Linked DNA regions of Homo sapiens: regions 1 and 2 are each linked to region 3. The links are contacts of gene promoters, found by promoter capture Hi-C in human tissues and cell types (Jung and others, 2019). All regions are on one chromosome and are shown on one strand. The core of a region is centred on a gene start or on the middle of the fragment in contact, and the rest is flanking DNA. Distances in the headings are between cores, read along the strand shown.

Region 1 (2,840 bases), core at 247-2,746, 230 kb after region 3:
TAAGTGTATATGAAAACGCAAGCAATAAAAAAGTGTGTGTGTATATATATATACATATTTGACTTCAACACTGAGAAAAAAGCAAAGCAAAATGCTACCCAATTGGAATTCTAACAAAAAAATTGATTCTCTATTTTTATAATAATTCTAACATTTATTAAGCAATTACTAAACACCAACTATTCTGTTATAAGGTGTATCCAGAGGGTTCACATATATTATCTCATTTAATCCTCACAACTCTCGGAAGAAAATAGGGTCATTGCTTTTTTTTTTTTTTTTTTTTTTTTTTTGAGACAGAGTCTCACTCTGTCACTCAGGCTGGAGTGCAGTGGTGTGATCATTGCAACTCCTCCTCCCAAGTTCAAGCAATTTCACGCATCAGCCTCCGGAGTAGCTGGGATTACAGGCATGCGCCACCACACCCGGCTAATGTTTGTATTTTCAGTAGAGACGGGGTTTCACCATTGCTGGCCAGGCTGGTCTCAAACTCCTGACCTCAAGTGATCTGCCCACCTCAGCTTCGCACAGTGCTGGGATTACATGTGTGAGCCACCGCACCCAGCCAGTAATTCCATTTTTAGAGAAAGTGAAACAAAATTGAAGAAGACAAATAGCTAGTCTCAATTTACCCAGGTGGTGAATGGCAAAGACAAGAACCAACTGGAACTTTCTGGTCCCAAAGTCATATTTAACTGCCACCTTCGTGTCTCACTGCGTAATTGGGGGCCAGTAAAACCGATTTTAGGAAAGAACTAGCATGCCGAGACTTTTCTTCCAAGTCTGTGTACCACTATAAACTCCTTCCCAGCTGTGTGTGCCCTGCTTCTCTCTTCCAGACACATTTGTACCAGGAAATGAGCCTTCCTGGAAACAGAACATACACACTCAGGCAGATATTTGACCATTTCCCCAGTCCCCTGCTGTTGAAAAACTGCTATCACATTCTCTTTTGGATGGAGACTTCTAACTTTCTCCCTTTTTCATACTTAATTCTAAAATGAATCAGTGTCCCCACTAGAATTAGCAGTGTCATATTAAATTAGAACAAAAAAATTGGATGTGAGAATCTAAGCGTAGCTTCTATACTACAATTTACAGCAGCCAAAAGCCTGCCAGAAGCCAAATACATTTCTGGATGTGTTATCTTCATCCTGAGCCCTTCCAGAGCCTCACTCCTGGTCACTGCAGGTCAAACCCCCAGCCACTCTAACACACGCCTGTGTACCTTGTTAAGTGGTTATTCCTCATTTGTTCCTTAAACTGCAGAGACTGAGTTTCCCCAGCCTCTCCCTTTACTTTATGAAGAGACTCCAGAGTAAACCATTGTTTCCATTGCTCTTTACAATCCTTGACCTCTGGACACAATCAGAAAATCCTGACTAAAGGGCCCCACTTGCGAAGAATGAGTAAACAATTTTATGCCTTTCCTCTATTTGGCTTTCCTCCAAGAGGAAAGGTTGACCCCAGAACAATTTCCTGTTCCTAGATTATGTGAAGATCTTTAATTATACAACTTTAGACACATGTTGGTATATTTTCATCACACTCTGTTCAATGGGGAGAGAACTATTAATATTCTTACAAGCAAAAGTGCATTTGTGTATATACATAAGAAAAGCACAAGAGATTTCTCTATCAGAATAGAGGTTATCAGGCCGGGCACAGGGGCTCATGCCTGTAATCCCAGCTCTTTGAGAGGCCAAGGCAGGTGGATCACCCAAGGTCAGGAGTTCAAGACCAGCCTGGCCAACAGGCAAAACCCCCGTCTCTACTAAAAATGTAAAAATTAGCCCGGTGTGGTGGCGCATGCTTATAGTCCCAGCTACTTGGGAGGCTGAGGCAGGAGAATTGCTTGAATCCAGGAGGCAGAGGTTGCAATGAGCTGAGATTGTGCCACTGCACTCCAGCCTGAGCGACAGAATGAGACCCTGTCTCAAAAAAAAAAAAAAAAAAAAAAACTTGAGGTTCTCGATTTTTCATTTATTTGAAGATAGCATGGAATTCTATTAAATAAAAAAATGATTTGTAGAAGAAAGATCTCTTCCAATTGAAAAGTGATTTTTGAGTACATAATTTATATTCAGTTCTGTGCTAAGTATCATGTGGGGTGGTCTATTACGTGGACCAGTGGACTAGGTATTATGTGGATCTGTAAACAGATGTGCAAAAGGAATCAAAATCTCAAACCTCAAGGGTTTTGGCTGAAATTCAAGCACGGCATGCTGAGCCATCTCCAAAGAAGAACCCAAGTAAATTTCTGTGAATGTTTTTCTTATCAGCTCTTCTAAAAAGATGTAACTCTAAAACCTAAGGAAACATTCATGATGTCAGGGAGTTTCCCTGAGAAGCAGAGATTTACCTCACAGAGTTCTGCTGATGGCAAGCCTTGCTGATATCTTGACTTCTGCTGTTGGAAATGCATTGCAAGTGATGCTTAGCTTCCAGAACCCTTCTAAGCAGACATTGTTCAGCAATTCTTTCTTTGCAACTACTTTTTCATTGTGACTTTTCATGTCACCACATCAATCATTCTGGATCAAAAGATTCTATTTTTTATCCAGAATACCCATTTCAAAGGTGACTTTTCTCTGGGCATGGCATTTACTTATTTGAATATGCCCCATAAAGGAGTCTTCCTGTCCACCAGACCCGGCGACTATAATCATCATAAATTCTTTGTAAGTTGTGTACACCATTAAAAAAAAATTACGTGTTCAGTGACATCATATATATTAGCACCTTTATTCTGCTGATTATACTTTCAAAAGATTCTCAGATGTGAGTTCTATAAAGGAAATCTGGGTACTATTTATTTATTCATTCAATAGTGTGAACAG
Region 2 (2,700 bases), core at 58-2,557, 180 kb before region 3:
CATTTGCTGGTTCATGTCTTTTTATATATTCCCTGGATATTCCAGAGTCACTCACATAGGGCCTCCACTATGACGTGCAAATAAGGCATCTGGCAAGTGGCAAAGCCAGGATGCAAACTCAGTTCTAACTGTGGGTTAGAACAAAGGAGCAGAAAAAAATAACATAACCATCCTGGCTAACACGGTGAAACCCCGTCTCTACTAAAAATACAAAAAATTAGCCGGGCGCGGTGGCGGGCGCCTGTAGTCCCAGCTACTCGGGAGGCTGAGGCAGGAGAATGGCGTGAACCCGGGAGGCGGAGCTTGCAGTGAGCCGAGATTGCGCCACTGCAGTCCGCAGTCCGGCCTGGGCGACAGAGCGAGACTCCGTCTCAAAAAAAAAAAAAAAGAAAAAATAACATAAAAGAAGGAGGAAGGAGGAGGTGGGGGAGGCAGATGACAGGGGGAAGAAAATAAAGAGTGTTGGCTTCTGCAACACATATACTAAAATTGTACATCAATGACACAGAGATTAGCGTGACCCCTGCACAGGGATAACACGCAAACTTTGTGAAACATTTCATATAAATTGAAGAATGGGATAGGCATGGTGGCTCACGTCTGTAATCTCAGCACTTTGGGAGGCTGAGGCGGGTGGATCACTTGAGGTTAGGAGTTTGAGACCAGCCTGGTCAACATGATGAAATCCCGTCTCTACTAAAAATACAAACACAAAAATTAGCCGGGTGTGGTGGTGTGAGCCTGTAATCCCACCTGCTTGGGATGCTGAGGCAGGAGAATTGTGTGAACCTGGGAGAGGGAGGTTGCAGTGAGCCGAGATCACACCGCTTCACTCCAGTTTGGGCGACAGAATGAGATTCCATCTCAAAAAAAAAAAAAAAAAAAAGAAGAATGTTTTAAAAAAGAGAAGAGAAGGCAAAGAAAGAAGATGAAAAGGAAGAGAAGGAAAAAAAGAAGAAAACATGTGCACAAACATTTAACCTATGGTGCAGACACTATTATAGCTCATGTCTCTGCTCTGCTCAAAACCATCCAATAGATCTTATTCAAAGTGAGATCCCATATCATTATTACTTTTTAAATTTTGCTTGTTTGTTTGTTTGCTTGTTTTGAGACAAGGTCTCACTCTGTCACCCCGGCTGGAGTGCAGTGACACAATCATAGCTCACTCAGCCTCCAACTGCTGGGCTCAAGTGATCCTCCTGCCTCAGCCTCCCAAGTAACTGGGCCTACAGGCATGTGCCACCACACTAGCTAATTTATTTAATTTTTTGTAGAAATGAGGTCTCACTATGTTGCCCAGACTGGTCTTGAGCTCCAGATCTCAAGCAATCCTCTTGTCTCAGCCTTCCAAAGCACTAGAATTATAGATGTGAGCCACCATGCCTGGCCTCCCATCTGCTATCACAGTCAATGACCCTACAGACTCTGGCTTCCCACTGTTGCCTTCTCTTCATTTCCTGTTACTCTTCCTTGCTCTCAGTCAAGTTCAGCTGCATCCACTTTATTGAACATATCAAGCAAAATAGCACCTGAGGGCCCTTGAGTTAGCTGTTTCCTTTCCCCAGAAGTTCTCTGCCCATTTTTGCTGCATGCCCACTGGCTTGCCACCTCACTTCCTTTCACTTTCTTCAGGTCTCTACTCAAATACTGCCTTTTCGTAAGGGCGTCCTTCGACCACTCTTAATAAAATAAAAACCTGCCATCGTTCTCTATGCCCCTCACTCTGCTTTATTTTTCTTCGTGTTATTTATTGCTGCATGATGTATTATACATGTATTTGTACATTTGTTTATTACCTGTCTCCCTTCTGTTTCTGGGATGCAATTGACAAGAGAACACAGATTTTGACTATTTTATTCACTGCTACATCTTTAGCCTCTAGAACTGTGTGCTTGGCATGTGGTAGTTCACCAAGAAATATTTGTGAAAGTTTGAATGACTGAATAACTGAACAATCAAATGAAGAGCCCTGTTTTAGAGAACAAACTGAAACACAGAGAAACTAAGTAGCTTGCCCAGGTCACTTGGAAAGTTAAACATTTTTCTCATGGTAAGCCAAACAATTATTATACCTGTTTAGAACATAACTTGCATTCAAACTTGAAGCTTATATTTTGTCTGTGTGTGTGCATGTGTCTGCATGTGTGCGTGTGCCTGCTTGCATATGTGCATGTGTGCATGTGTCTGCGTGTGTGTGTGCCTGTGTGTGTGCGCATGTGGGCCTGTGCATGTCTGTGTGTGTGTGCGTGTGTGTGTGCATGTGTGAGTCTGTGTGTGCAAGTGCATGTGTGTGGGTGTGTGCGTGTGTGTGCGCATCTGTGTGCTCATTTGTGTCTGTGTGTGTGTCTGTGTGTGTGTATGTCTGTGTGTGCGTGGGTGTGCATGTATGCATGTCTCTGTGTGTGTGCGTATGTGTGCGTGTGTGTGCGCGTGTGTGTGCATGTGTGTTTATGTGTTGTCCTTATCTTTGGATCATTGTTCTTTTGTTGCCTTGTCCTCGTCTATCAAGACAATAATCTGATTCTGTTGTTAGTTTGGTATGCATGTTGATGTATAGATTGGAGATAGGAAATTATGACAGATAGCTGACATAATTTGTTTAATTGGATTACCAAGAAAATCTGTTGAGAAAGATTGGTTAGATTCAAAAATTACAACTTTTTGAAGTACTAGTATAAAATAGTATTTTTAAAAATT
Region 3 (2,841 bases), core at 50-2,549:
GCTTAGTGACACCCTTTTAGTCAGTTTCAGAGTCAGAAATAAATAAACAGGAGATGAATTGTCCAAGAGATATTAGACAGTACAGGGATCAGAAGCAAAAGAAATGTGGGTAGAATCCTTTGAAACATTTTTACCACATTTTACCAAACTTGTACTAACTTAAGATGGTATCTGAGTTATCGTCTCCCTAAGCAGTTACAGGATGAGAAGGTGACCATCAACCCTGCATTGTATATTATTTACATGGAGAAAATGTTTGTCCTCATACCTGCCATTTCTAAAAATATATTTTGAAACTCAAGTATTTTGCTAAAATGAAAAAATAGGAAACTCACACCTCAGAAATGATGGACGGATGTGTGAAATAACCCCCCTCTCTTCCCTCACCTCCAAAGAAAAAATAGCACCTTACACAGTTACAAAGCTATTAAAAACCCAAGTGGAAGCCAAGTTGAGGATATTTTCAATGACAGTCACATTTTTGTTATTTTTCTTAAACTATTCTTTGCTTAAACTGCTTCGTGGGTAAAATTCAAAAAGTCCTGGATAATTTGCATGTTCACCCAGAATCCTTTCTCTTTTTTTGCAGCTTAGTAGAACTCAGCATGTTAAATAACATGAGTTTATGTAATCACTGGTAGCAGAAGTAAACCTCAGAAACTTCTGGGCCAAATGCCTAAAGAATGAATTCACTTCTCTACTCTTAGAAAATCACCACAGCAGGATGGAAGAGGGATTCCCTTGAAAACTTTTAACACTCTGGCAGTGGGTGCTTGAGAAGTAAGCTGAACACTTTCCATCCTGAATCCCAAGCCTCTCAACTCTTCCCTGAATCTTCCTCAGATCTGCTTTTGTTTTCCCCAATCTCTCTTCTCTGCCTCCCATCCTCACTCCTAGTCTCTTTCAAGCCCAAACTGCAGAGAGGAAGCAGGTAGTAACATGCTTGAATTCCCTAATCCTTTGGTTGTTACTCACCAGGAGAGAGAAAAGGAGCTGCTTACAGAAGATGCTCCCTGGGGCAGCAGAGGCCAGAGCCATCAGAAGCAGTCCCAATGGCCAGGGACGGTGGCCAGATAACAGGGCAGCCTGGGATGCACAGAGCGGCTAAGAAGACGCTGGCACTTGCACAGGGTATTCTGCTGCCACCTTGATGCAGCTGAGCTTGGTTTGGAAGACAGTCCGGAGGCAAGTGATAAACAGTAGGAGGAGCAACGGGAGAATTTCTTTCCCCCTATTCCCTGGCCAGTCTCCTTCCTTCCAGTTCAATTACGTCTAAATGCAAAGAGGCTTTCCTACAAGTGAGGAGGGTGGGGTACAAAACACCCCAAAACCCAGTCAGTAGCTCCTCCTCACAGCAGCTTTCAAAATTTCTCTTGCCACTTAACACATAGGCAGAAGGAGGAGGGAACACCCTTCATCCTCAGCCCTCCTCCCTTTCCCCCAGGTTGATGCTGTGAAGTCCTCCCCAGTTATTACCCACTCCCACAGCCTCCCCTCCTTCTTGGCCTTATTAACCTGTCTTGCCCTCGGGTACAAACATAAATTGTGCACAAACGCCATGCAAGGAAGTGATGCCTCCTCAACTGCCATTGGCAAATCAGAGGACCTAAGCGTGTGTAATCACACTCATCAGAAGTTATCTCCCATCTAAGCATTTAAGTGTCATCGGTCCTGTAGAACACTGTAGTTCTGCTAGAGAACTGGCATTCCAGTTTAAAGCAGCAACTTCATAAAGGCATGGTATCTACTTCCTGTTATTGACTATTCACTGTGGTTGGTTCTCTAGATGTCACAGGAAACTTATCAGAATGTAAAGACTTCATAAAAGAAAGAGAATAAAGAAATAGCTAGCATATAATCTTTCTTGTGGCTTTCCTTTTGTTGTACAAGATGCCACTGCTTTTTACCTTTATATTTTTTCAAGGACAACTACAATCTTTGAGAGCAAGTCTCTCTAAAATCACTCTATTCACCCTAATTACTTGTACATTACACATAGGATATCCTAGCTTAATAGTACAATCAGGCCATCAAGTGTAGATTTTTTTAAACCCTAATGATTCCTCTAACAAGAGCTTTAGCATCATTATTCCTGTCCCAAATTAGTGAGCTCAGTGATACCAATTGCACTCAATGGCAGTGATGGAAGTTAGGACAGAAGGATAAATATTTTCAAATGTTAAGGTAGAGCCCAACACCCATGCTGCTGAGAAGGGAGGAAAGAAAGGTTTTCTTCAGCTTATTTGACAATGGGAACAATTTCTCCTTGTATGTAGAGACAGAAATAAATGTAACTGCTTCATTAGAATTAGAAGCTAGGAAGATTTGGAAAATGAATGACCCAGGAGAAAAAAAACTAAAAGATATCTTGTAGTATTTTATTGCTAGTGGTATACCCACTAATAAACATATTTTGTGACTGCATTGGAATTTGATTTCTCAATCAGAAAATACAGTCATTTTAATGGAATATTTTTATATCTGGCGTTTTGGGAGAAAAGAATGGGAATATAGAAATAGAAAAATTACTTAGATGTATATGTGTACAGCCAAGTGTAATTCTGTGCATGTTTAAGCATCATCTAAGTATATATTTAGATAGATAGATAGACAGATAAATAGATAGTCATACAGCTTAAATAATTCAAAGACAAATTCTCCAACCCTAGAAAATAGAAACACATTTTTTTCAGCTAATGAAGTTATCATTACCTTTTTCTATAACATGATATTCTCCACTGAACTAGGAAGATATAGAAGAGCAAAATTAAATTGGTGTTACTGAAAAAATGGCATATATTGGTTGGATGAAGAGATTCCAGGCACTGCTCAATTCAAATG

What was found. The method cuts DNA at HindIII sites, captures the fragments that hold promoters and counts their contacts. A contact is called where the count stands out against the background at its distance.
Region 1: a fragment that was not itself captured here is called in contact with the fragment with the promoter of DSC1 in region 3 in 5 of the 25 tissues and cell types used here (H1 embryonic stem cells, adrenal gland, heart right ventricle and 2 more).
Region 2: a fragment that was not itself captured here is called in contact with the fragment with the promoter of DSC1 in region 3 in 2 of the 25 tissues and cell types used here (adrenal gland and stomach).

Annotation. Positions count from the first base shown.
Region 1 is chr18:31,396,089-31,398,928 of GRCh38, forward strand. The region is part of intron 8 of DSG4 (desmoglein 4); the gene reads left to right. The region is part of intron 1 of DSG1-AS1 (DSG1 antisense RNA 1); the gene reads right to left. Among named protein-coding and RNA genes, the nearest start is that of DSG4, 21 kb to the left of the region's middle. RefSeq lists a silencer at 2,184-2,384. The HindIII fragment of the contact is 5,238 bases long and covers 1-2,840 here.
Region 2 is chr18:30,983,647-30,986,346 of GRCh38, forward strand. It overlaps the pseudogene RNU6-857P. Among named protein-coding and RNA genes, the nearest start is that of DSC3, 58 kb to the right of the region's middle. RefSeq lists a silencer at 2,212-2,408. The HindIII fragment of the contact is 7,172 bases long and covers 1-2,700 here.
Region 3 is chr18:31,161,557-31,164,397 of GRCh38, forward strand. DSC1 (desmocollin 1) reads right to left here and starts at 1,300. Exons shown (of 16, transcript NM_024421.2): 1 at 976-1,300. The coding sequence starts at 1,038. DSCAS (DSC1/DSC2 antisense RNA) reads left to right here. Exons shown (of 4, transcript NR_110785.1): 4 at 979-1,233. The HindIII fragment of the contact is 13,832 bases long and covers 1-2,841 here.